3 separate regions of the Homo sapiens genome follow, and regions 2 and 3 are each linked to region 1. Evidence: promoter capture Hi-C in human tissues and cell types (Jung and others, 2019). All regions are on one chromosome and are shown on one strand. The core of a region is centred on a gene start or on the middle of the fragment in contact, and the rest is flanking DNA. Distances in the headings are between cores, read along the strand shown.

Evidence for each region. Contacts are between HindIII fragments. The study calls those that stand out against the background at their distance.
Region 2: a contact is called between a fragment that was not itself captured here and the fragment with the promoter of RELN in region 1, in 4 of the 25 tissues and cell types used here (liver, mesendoderm cells, pancreas and 1 more).
Region 3: a fragment that was not itself captured here is called in contact with the fragment with the promoter of RELN in region 1 in 2 of the 25 tissues and cell types used here (dorsolateral prefrontal cortex and spleen).

Annotation. Positions count from the first base shown.
Region 1 is chr7:103,988,397-103,990,935 of GRCh38, forward strand. It overlaps RELN (reelin), which reads right to left and starts at 1,262. Exons shown (of 65, transcript NM_005045.4): 1 at 735-1,262. The coding sequence starts at 960. The HindIII fragment of the contact is 8,012 bases long and covers 1-2,539 here.
Region 2 is chr7:103,862,677-103,865,215 of GRCh38, forward strand. All of the region lies in intron 2 of RELN (reelin), which reads right to left. Among named protein-coding and RNA genes, the nearest start is that of RELN, 130 kb to the right of the region's middle. The HindIII fragment of the contact is 4,123 bases long and covers 1-2,539 here.
Region 3 is chr7:103,924,366-103,926,904 of GRCh38, forward strand. The region is part of intron 1 of RELN (reelin); the gene reads right to left. Among named protein-coding and RNA genes, the nearest start is that of RELN, 64 kb to the right of the region's middle. The HindIII fragment of the contact is 4,065 bases long and covers 1-2,539 here.

The sequences.
Region 1 (2,539 bases), core at 12-2,511:
TACCTGGAAATTAAAGCTGTGCAGATAAAATACAAAGTCATTAATAAACATCACAAAGATAATTCTAACAAGAAGCACCATGTAAAAGTAAGGCAGGAATCAGAAAAATCATCAATTACTGACATATTAAATCACACTTTCAAAAGAATAGGGAGCTGGAAGCAGCCGCTCCCTTTCAGGAGGGCTGTATGACACTGAATGAAATGCCAGGGACTCCTGGCTGGTGAGCAGCGGGAACTTTGCGGTCGAGCGGCGCGGGGCAGCCACAGACCTGGGCGCTTCAATCTGTCACCAGCCTGCCCGCAAAGCCCAGCGACAGCCCCCAACGCCCCCCCGGGGACCCATCTGGGGGGACCGGGAGCAGGACAAAGGTCTGAAATCCAAGTCCTAGGAGTAAAGAAACAAAATGCGCAGGTTCAATTTAAAGTGCCTGCGGTAAGTACGGGGAGTGAGGGGGAAAGACACCGGCCTCCAAGAATTCTCAGGCGTTTAGCACAAGCACCAGCTCATTACCAGGAGATGCGTTCGGGGAGTGGGGACATGGAGAATGAATCCCAACTTGTGACTCCATTCTCCACTAACTTTATTCTCGCTCCCTGGACCAAGCGCATCGCTGGGGCCAGGGTTGTCATGGTTCTTGTTTCCAAGGCCCCTTGGAAGAAGGAAAGGGATGAGAAAGGTGCGCTGGCGGGCGCACCCGGCGGCGGCGAGCGCGGAGGTGCTGCGGTACCTACCATGGTATTCTTGTCCCGGAACGTAGTAGGTGGGGTTGCCCGCAATATGCAGGGAAATGAGCACCTCGCCCTGCTCCCCATCCCCTTCCAGCTCCCCGTGGTGGGTGCACAGGAAAAAGAAGGGCGAAAAGCGGGGGTAATAGCCAGCCGCCGCGCGCGCCCTCAGCGTCGCCCCCAGCAACAGCGCTAGGAGGAAAGTCTGCCGGGCCCAGCCACTGCGCTCCATGCCGCCGCCGCCGCCGCCGCCGCCGCGCGCCCTACGCGCCGCTCGCTCATTCAGTTTTGGAGACGCCGGGACGGAGGAGCCACGCGGAGAGAAGGCGAGAAGAAGGCGGACGGGAGCGGAACGGGCTCGGGAGCGGGCCTGGGAGCGGGCCCCCGCCGAGAAGTTCCGCGGGAGACGGCGGCTCCCAAAGTTACTTTGGGCCGCGGGAGCGCGGGACCGGGGCTGCGGGCGCCGAGAGCGCGTCGTCTGCCGCCTCCGTGCGCCGCCGCCGCCTCTGCGCGACGCCCCTCGGCCAGGCCTGGGAAAGCGCCCGCCCCGCTCCACACCTTCTTAAAGCCCCGGGCGCCGCGTCCCCCCCGCCGCCGCCACACGTGTCCCGGCCGCTCCCCCGCCCCCGCGCGCCGCCCCGCCCGCCCCCCGCCCTCTCGGGCTGGCTCGGCGGCACCTCGCGCGGCGAGGGGCGCACGCGTCCCCGGAGTCCCCGGCCAGCGCCCGGTTCGCACCCGGGAGGACAGGGAGGGGCGCCCGCCGGGGAGCGGGACGGGGACGCTGTCGAGGACCGCTGAGCCCGCGACTCTTCTGCGAGGGACGTCAAAGCCCCGCAGAGGGCACCTCCCGTCCAGCTGTCTGAAGGGGAAGGCCAGCCCCTTTGGCCGTCAGTGTGCCCTGTTTTTCCTGGGAGGATGCGTGAGGGAAGGAGAGGGGCGGCAGGGACGGCCGCTGGCGCCGGTTTCTTTGTCTGAGCCGGCTGCGTCCCGCGCCCCTCGGGGCTCGCAGTCTGCCAGTCCGGGCGGCCCGCACTCGTTCTGGGAATCCGCCCGAGGCCGCGAACCGCTAGGGGCCCTCGCGCTCCCTTCCCACCCAGGCCCCCTGTCCCTCCCGCCGCGGCCGCCCGGCCCCTCGCGGCAGCGACAGAGCCTCATCTGTAGAGGATTTTAAAATGAGATTAAGCGAAAGTGGAATTGGCAGACTCGAGTGGTGCCTGGAAATGGTGATTTGTGCTGCTCGGTTGTGGGGAATTGTAAGGCAGGAAGGGCTGGCGGAGCTAAGATCCGACAGGCTCTCTTCGCCGGACTGTTCTGTTATTCATTGCTTCTGGGCTCTTCAGGCAGAGATGGGTGTTGTAATTTTTTAAATCAGTGTTTATTTCCTTTAAATGTCGGTTATGACCAATGGCCCTGAAATCGGGGGAGGGAAAAACGTTCAGGGGAGATGCTGGCAGCGGTGATTGAAGCGGGTGGTAATGAGCGGCTGCACATGAACTGCAGGGAAGTGAAATAATCCATAAGCACGTTTTTAACCGAGGACGGCTGGCAGGAGCCCTGCGGCATCCGGAGATGGGGGAGCGGGGTTGCCAGGTTTTAATGCCTCTCCCCACCCACCCTTGGCTTGCCACCAAGCCAGATAAACCCGCACGTACAGAAATGAGTAGATTATAAAATTGGAAGGGATAGTGCCTTTGCCTGCATTTGTGGGGCGAGGGGCGGTGAAAATCAGGGTCCAAGGGGAGACCTCTGTAATCACTTCGTTGCAAAAGGAAGAAATTGTTTTTCTTCCTCTTACTGAGACCGAATGACAG
Region 2 (2,539 bases), core at 23-2,522, 130 kb before region 1:
AATTTAATTTCATGCCACAAAGTCTTCTCTAAAGTCAAATGTATTGAAACAGAAAGCTGAGAAAGAACAGAAATCTAAGCCTTGGATGTCCATTGGCAGCCAGGACACTGTCTTCCAGCAGTTGGGTGACAGGAGCAGATGGTCTAAAGGTTGGTAAAAACACTTGATTTGTTGCAAAATAGGCAGGAAATCAGAGAATGGACGTGGCTGTTCTCTCGGTAGAAGAATGTAAGGATTACTTAGGGAGAGCCACATATTGAAGAGTGACCATCTATTCAAGTTCATCTCAACAGTTACTGGGGGTCAGAATGTCCAACAGGCTAGGCAGCTAGAGCGCTGAAACAGGCCAAACACCAAGAGGGCAAAAGGAAGAAAAGCTTTAAGAACTCAGTCATCTACTATTAAGACAATAAAGCTCATCAAGAGAGACTGAAACGAATAAGCAACAATGTGCGCCACCAGCAATGATCAGCTTGGCAACTCTGATAAAAAGAGGTGGATCATTTTGAGTGAAGGTGTCAAGATGCTTATGAATCTAAAAGAGACATGACGCATAAAAGCAAGAGGAATAATTATAATCATTATAGTATCTTCAAAAGACATTTTTGACACATGAACCATATGAAAGAATCATAGAATGTTAGAGCTGGAAAGGGCCCTGGAAGCATCTGACCTAATCTCCACCTTTTACAGGTAAGGAAATTAAGGCCCAGAAACATGAAGTGATTTGTCCAAGGACACAGAGGTCATTAGTGAGAGAGAACAAACTGGAATGCAGGTCTCCAAGGCCCAGGCTGCTATTCCAAAAATCCTGTATCCCTGCAATGGGAGTAGTTTTTTAAACAGCCTCACATCAGTTTTCTTAACCACATCTTCACATCAGTTTTCTTAACCACATCTTCACAGGACACTAACCCTTAGAGCTTTGAGGAAGAATTTTATAAAAAGCTTTGGAATGGGGCTGAAAGAGAGGGCATCCAAAGGACCCCAGGTGCATTCAGGACATTTCCTAACCTAAATCTCCTCTGAGATTAGTAAAATGGACATTATTAGCCCCATTCTACAGATGAGGAAGTTTCACTCCAAGACCATACGATGGAATAACATCTTAAATTTCACATGAGATAAATCCTTTGCAATCAATTTTTTTTTTTTTAGAAAAAAATCCTCTAAGTTTTGCAGCACTGGAAGAAATCACTGTTTTGTTGGCTGAGCACCAGATTAGGTAGCAGGCTTTCAGGAAGATGACATGTTGCACAAAACAAATGGACTTTAAATAATACACTTTAAACAATAAAGTTACACCCAGCCTGGGGATGCTCACACTACTGGAGCCATGTGAGAACTCAGACAAACTGAAGGAACAGCAGATTCACATCTTGCTTTTCAACTTCACTCAGAAGTGTGTGCTCTCTAGATGGGCAGGTAGATAGGATCACTCACATCATTTACTTTTTACTCTTCTGTCTCTGTCAACCGTAATTGAAATCTCATAACTTAAACACACCTATAATGCAACTTTAAGCGACTAGCCCAAGTTCACACAGCTAGTGTCATCTCAGACCTACATGTATGTGGTATCTTGAAAAAGTTAATAACTGTTTTTTTTAATTGTAGTAAGAACACTTAATACGAGGTCCACCCTCTTTAACAAAATTTTAAGTGCCCAGTGCAGTGCTGTTAACTGCAAGTTGTACAATGCTGTGCAGCACACCTCTAGAAGTTACTCACCTTGTATAACTAAAACTTTATACCTCTTGAACAGCAACCGTTTCCCCCTCCTCCTGGCACCTGGCAACCACCATTCTATTCTCCGCTTCTGTGAGTTTGACATTTTTAGATCCTGCACAGAAGTGGATTCATGCAGTATTTGTCCTTCTGTGACTGGTTCATTTCACTTTGCACGAAGTCCTCCAGGTCCATCTGTGTTGTCACAAATGACAGGATTTCCTTAAATAAGCAACCTAACTTTATACCTTAAGGAACTAGAAAAAGGGCAAACTAAGGCTAAAGTTAGCAGAAGGTAGAAAATAAGGATTGGAGCAGAAATAGAAAATAGAAAAACAATAGAAAAAAACAACAAAACTGAGTTTGGCTTTTAAAAATAAGTAAAATGGACAAACCCTTAGCCAGACTAAGAAAAAGAGAAGGTTAAAAAAAATTGGAAATGAAAGAGGAGTCATTACAATTGATGCCACAGAAATGAAACGGTAAGAGACTATTATGAACAATTATACACCAACACACTGAGTAACCCAAAAGAAATAAATTCTGTGAAATCCCGTCTCTACTAAAAATATAAAAATTAGCCAGGCATGGTGGCAGGCACCTGTAATCCCAGCTACTGGGGAGGCTGAGGTAGGAGAATTGTTTGTTGAACCTGGAAGGCAGAGGTGGCAATGAGCCGAGGTCATGCCATTGTACTCCAAACTGGCCAACAAGAGGGAAACTGTCTCAAAAAAAAAAAAAAAAAAAAAAAGAAAGAAAGAAATTCTTAGAAACATACAAGCTACCACGATTGAATCATGAAAAAATAGGA
Region 3 (2,539 bases), core at 14-2,513, 64 kb before region 1:
GAGGACTAAACGCAGTGTGATAAAGGACTAAGCTTAAGATCAAAATAATAAGGTCAAAGAGCCCTGGATCAGCCCACCTCTGAAAGCAAGCGGAGAATGCCGTGCAAATGCTTTGCAGCTTTGTCTCCACCTGCAAGGAGAGGAAAAACTGAGCAAGATCCAGGAATTCTAGCAGGTGCAGGACACCCATCATATGCAAAACTTAATGACCGATGAAAACACCTTCCAGGGTCTGGAAAATGTTCTTTGCTGGCTAGAGGAGGGGTACAGCATCTCTGTGGAACGCTATTATGATATACTTATTACTGATTCAGAGATTCAGATGAACCACACGTAGCCTCTAAGTCTTATTTTCTGGCACCACCAGTAATAAAAGGAAATCCACTGAAATTTTTTTTGCTTCCTTTAAGTTCTTGGGAGATAAAACAGGTGCAGTCAAATGTGTTTGTGAATTTATTATTTTAAAATTAAGCCCTTTGGAAGTAAGTTTAGATGAGAGCACTTGGTGAATATAAATCTCTCCTACTCAATCCCTCTACATTGCCTTTCCTCTTCTTTATGTTCCAAACCCCAACCCACCCTACAAGCACTCTCTCTCTGACACACGTGTGCATGCGCATACACATACACACACACACACACACACACACACACACACACACACACACACACACGCTCACTCAGAATTTCTAAAAATATTAACCTTGAGGTAAAAATCTCACATCTTATTCAGGTGATCCCTTCCCTAGACTTGGAGACATAGGTCAGAATAAACTACCTGGAATGAGGTCCTGAACAATATTTTTGAAATCTCCGAAGACTGTCCAATCTAGCCTAAATAAAAATTCCTAAATAGTAATAGTAATGATAAAGAATTAAAATATAATTTTACAATTCTCTACCCATTTTTAGCCCCAACTGCACTTAAAGCAGGAATAATTTCATTTTATCATCCACTTTTGGCCTTTATAATTTAATTCTGAATTTTTAAAAAATTCTACAAATAATGATAATTAGTTTCTATTATATAACCCAAAATTTTTTTCTTTATAAATGACACTTTATTATAATTCAGAGAACCACAGACAAGAGTAACTGGTATTTGTGATTTATCTCTGACCTTATTTTTCACGTTACTTTTATATGAGGCTGGATAATACTCATCCATGAAAATTTCATATTGTTGGCCCTGCACTCAATAAATTATTAAAGTGATGTGAATAGGAATGTGGTGTTCAGGTTTTCAGCAATTTTCATCCTTTTGTTCTTGCTTTTTTAAAGGAAAGACTATCTTGTCTAAAACTCAACATATCTTTGTAAAATTTAAGCAAAGATTAGCCTTAAAAGAAATCATTTTGGGAGATTTATTACTCTGAATTGCTGCAAGAAGTTTTAACAATGTTTTTCTTTTGAGGCATGGATAATTTTCTAGGTTGAGAAGAATAAGCCTAGTAATTCTTATAAGCACATACACAGGTGAATACATTACAATAAAATACACGGATGCCTAGAGAACAAATATATGTGTGATTTTTCTCCCCCAAAATCATCAGGTGTGTAAAGCTTTTATACAATAAAAAAGGCTTCTAACTTTTCTGTTTCTATTATGTTTTTTTTACGTTGTTTTGACCAAAGCTAACTAAAGAAAATTTGAACTCACGTAACAAATAACAAAGTAACTCCTAATAGTGCCCCAAGTAGTTTAAAACATAAATATATGACCCCCACCCCGCCTTTTTTTTTTTTTTTTTTTTGAGATGGAGTCTCACTCTGTCTCCAGGCTGGAGTGCAGTGGCACAATCTTGGCTCACTGCAACCTCTGCCTCCTCAGTTCAAGCGATTGTTCTGCCTCAGCCTCCCAAGTAGCTGGGACTACGGGTACGTGCCATCAGGCCAATTTTTGTATTTTTAGTAGAGATGGGGTTTCACCATGTTGGCCAGGATGGTCTCGATCTCTTGACCTTGTGATCCACCCACCTCAGCCTCCCAAAGTGCTACGATTACAGGCGTGAGCCACTGCACCTGGCCAGCTTTTGATTGTAGTTCAACATATTGAAAATATGCCATTACGAAATTCTTAAATATGTTCATATTTGCAACAACTTTATGCTTGTGCAAGAACATGCCAAGAGTGACCTTGATAATACTCGTGCGTATGTCATACATCTGTTGTTTGTAAAATGTATAGATCAACATTAATAATAATTGATAGAATTCCTAATACACATAGTTAAACCGAACGCAGCTCTAAAGTATCATAAGTTTTTTTTTTTTTTTTTTTTTTTTTTTTTTTTTTTGAGACGGAGTCTCCCTCTGTCGCCCAGGCTAGAGGGCAGTGGCCTGATCTCAGCTCACTGCAAGCTCTGCCTCCCGGGTTCACGCCATTTTCCTGCCTCAGCCTCCCGAGTAGCTCGGATTACAGGCATGAGCCACCACATCCAGCTAATTTTTTTTGTATTTTTAGTAGAGATGGGTTTTCACTGTGTTAGCCAGGACGGTTTCAATCTCCTGACCTCGTGATCCACCCCCTTGGCCTCCC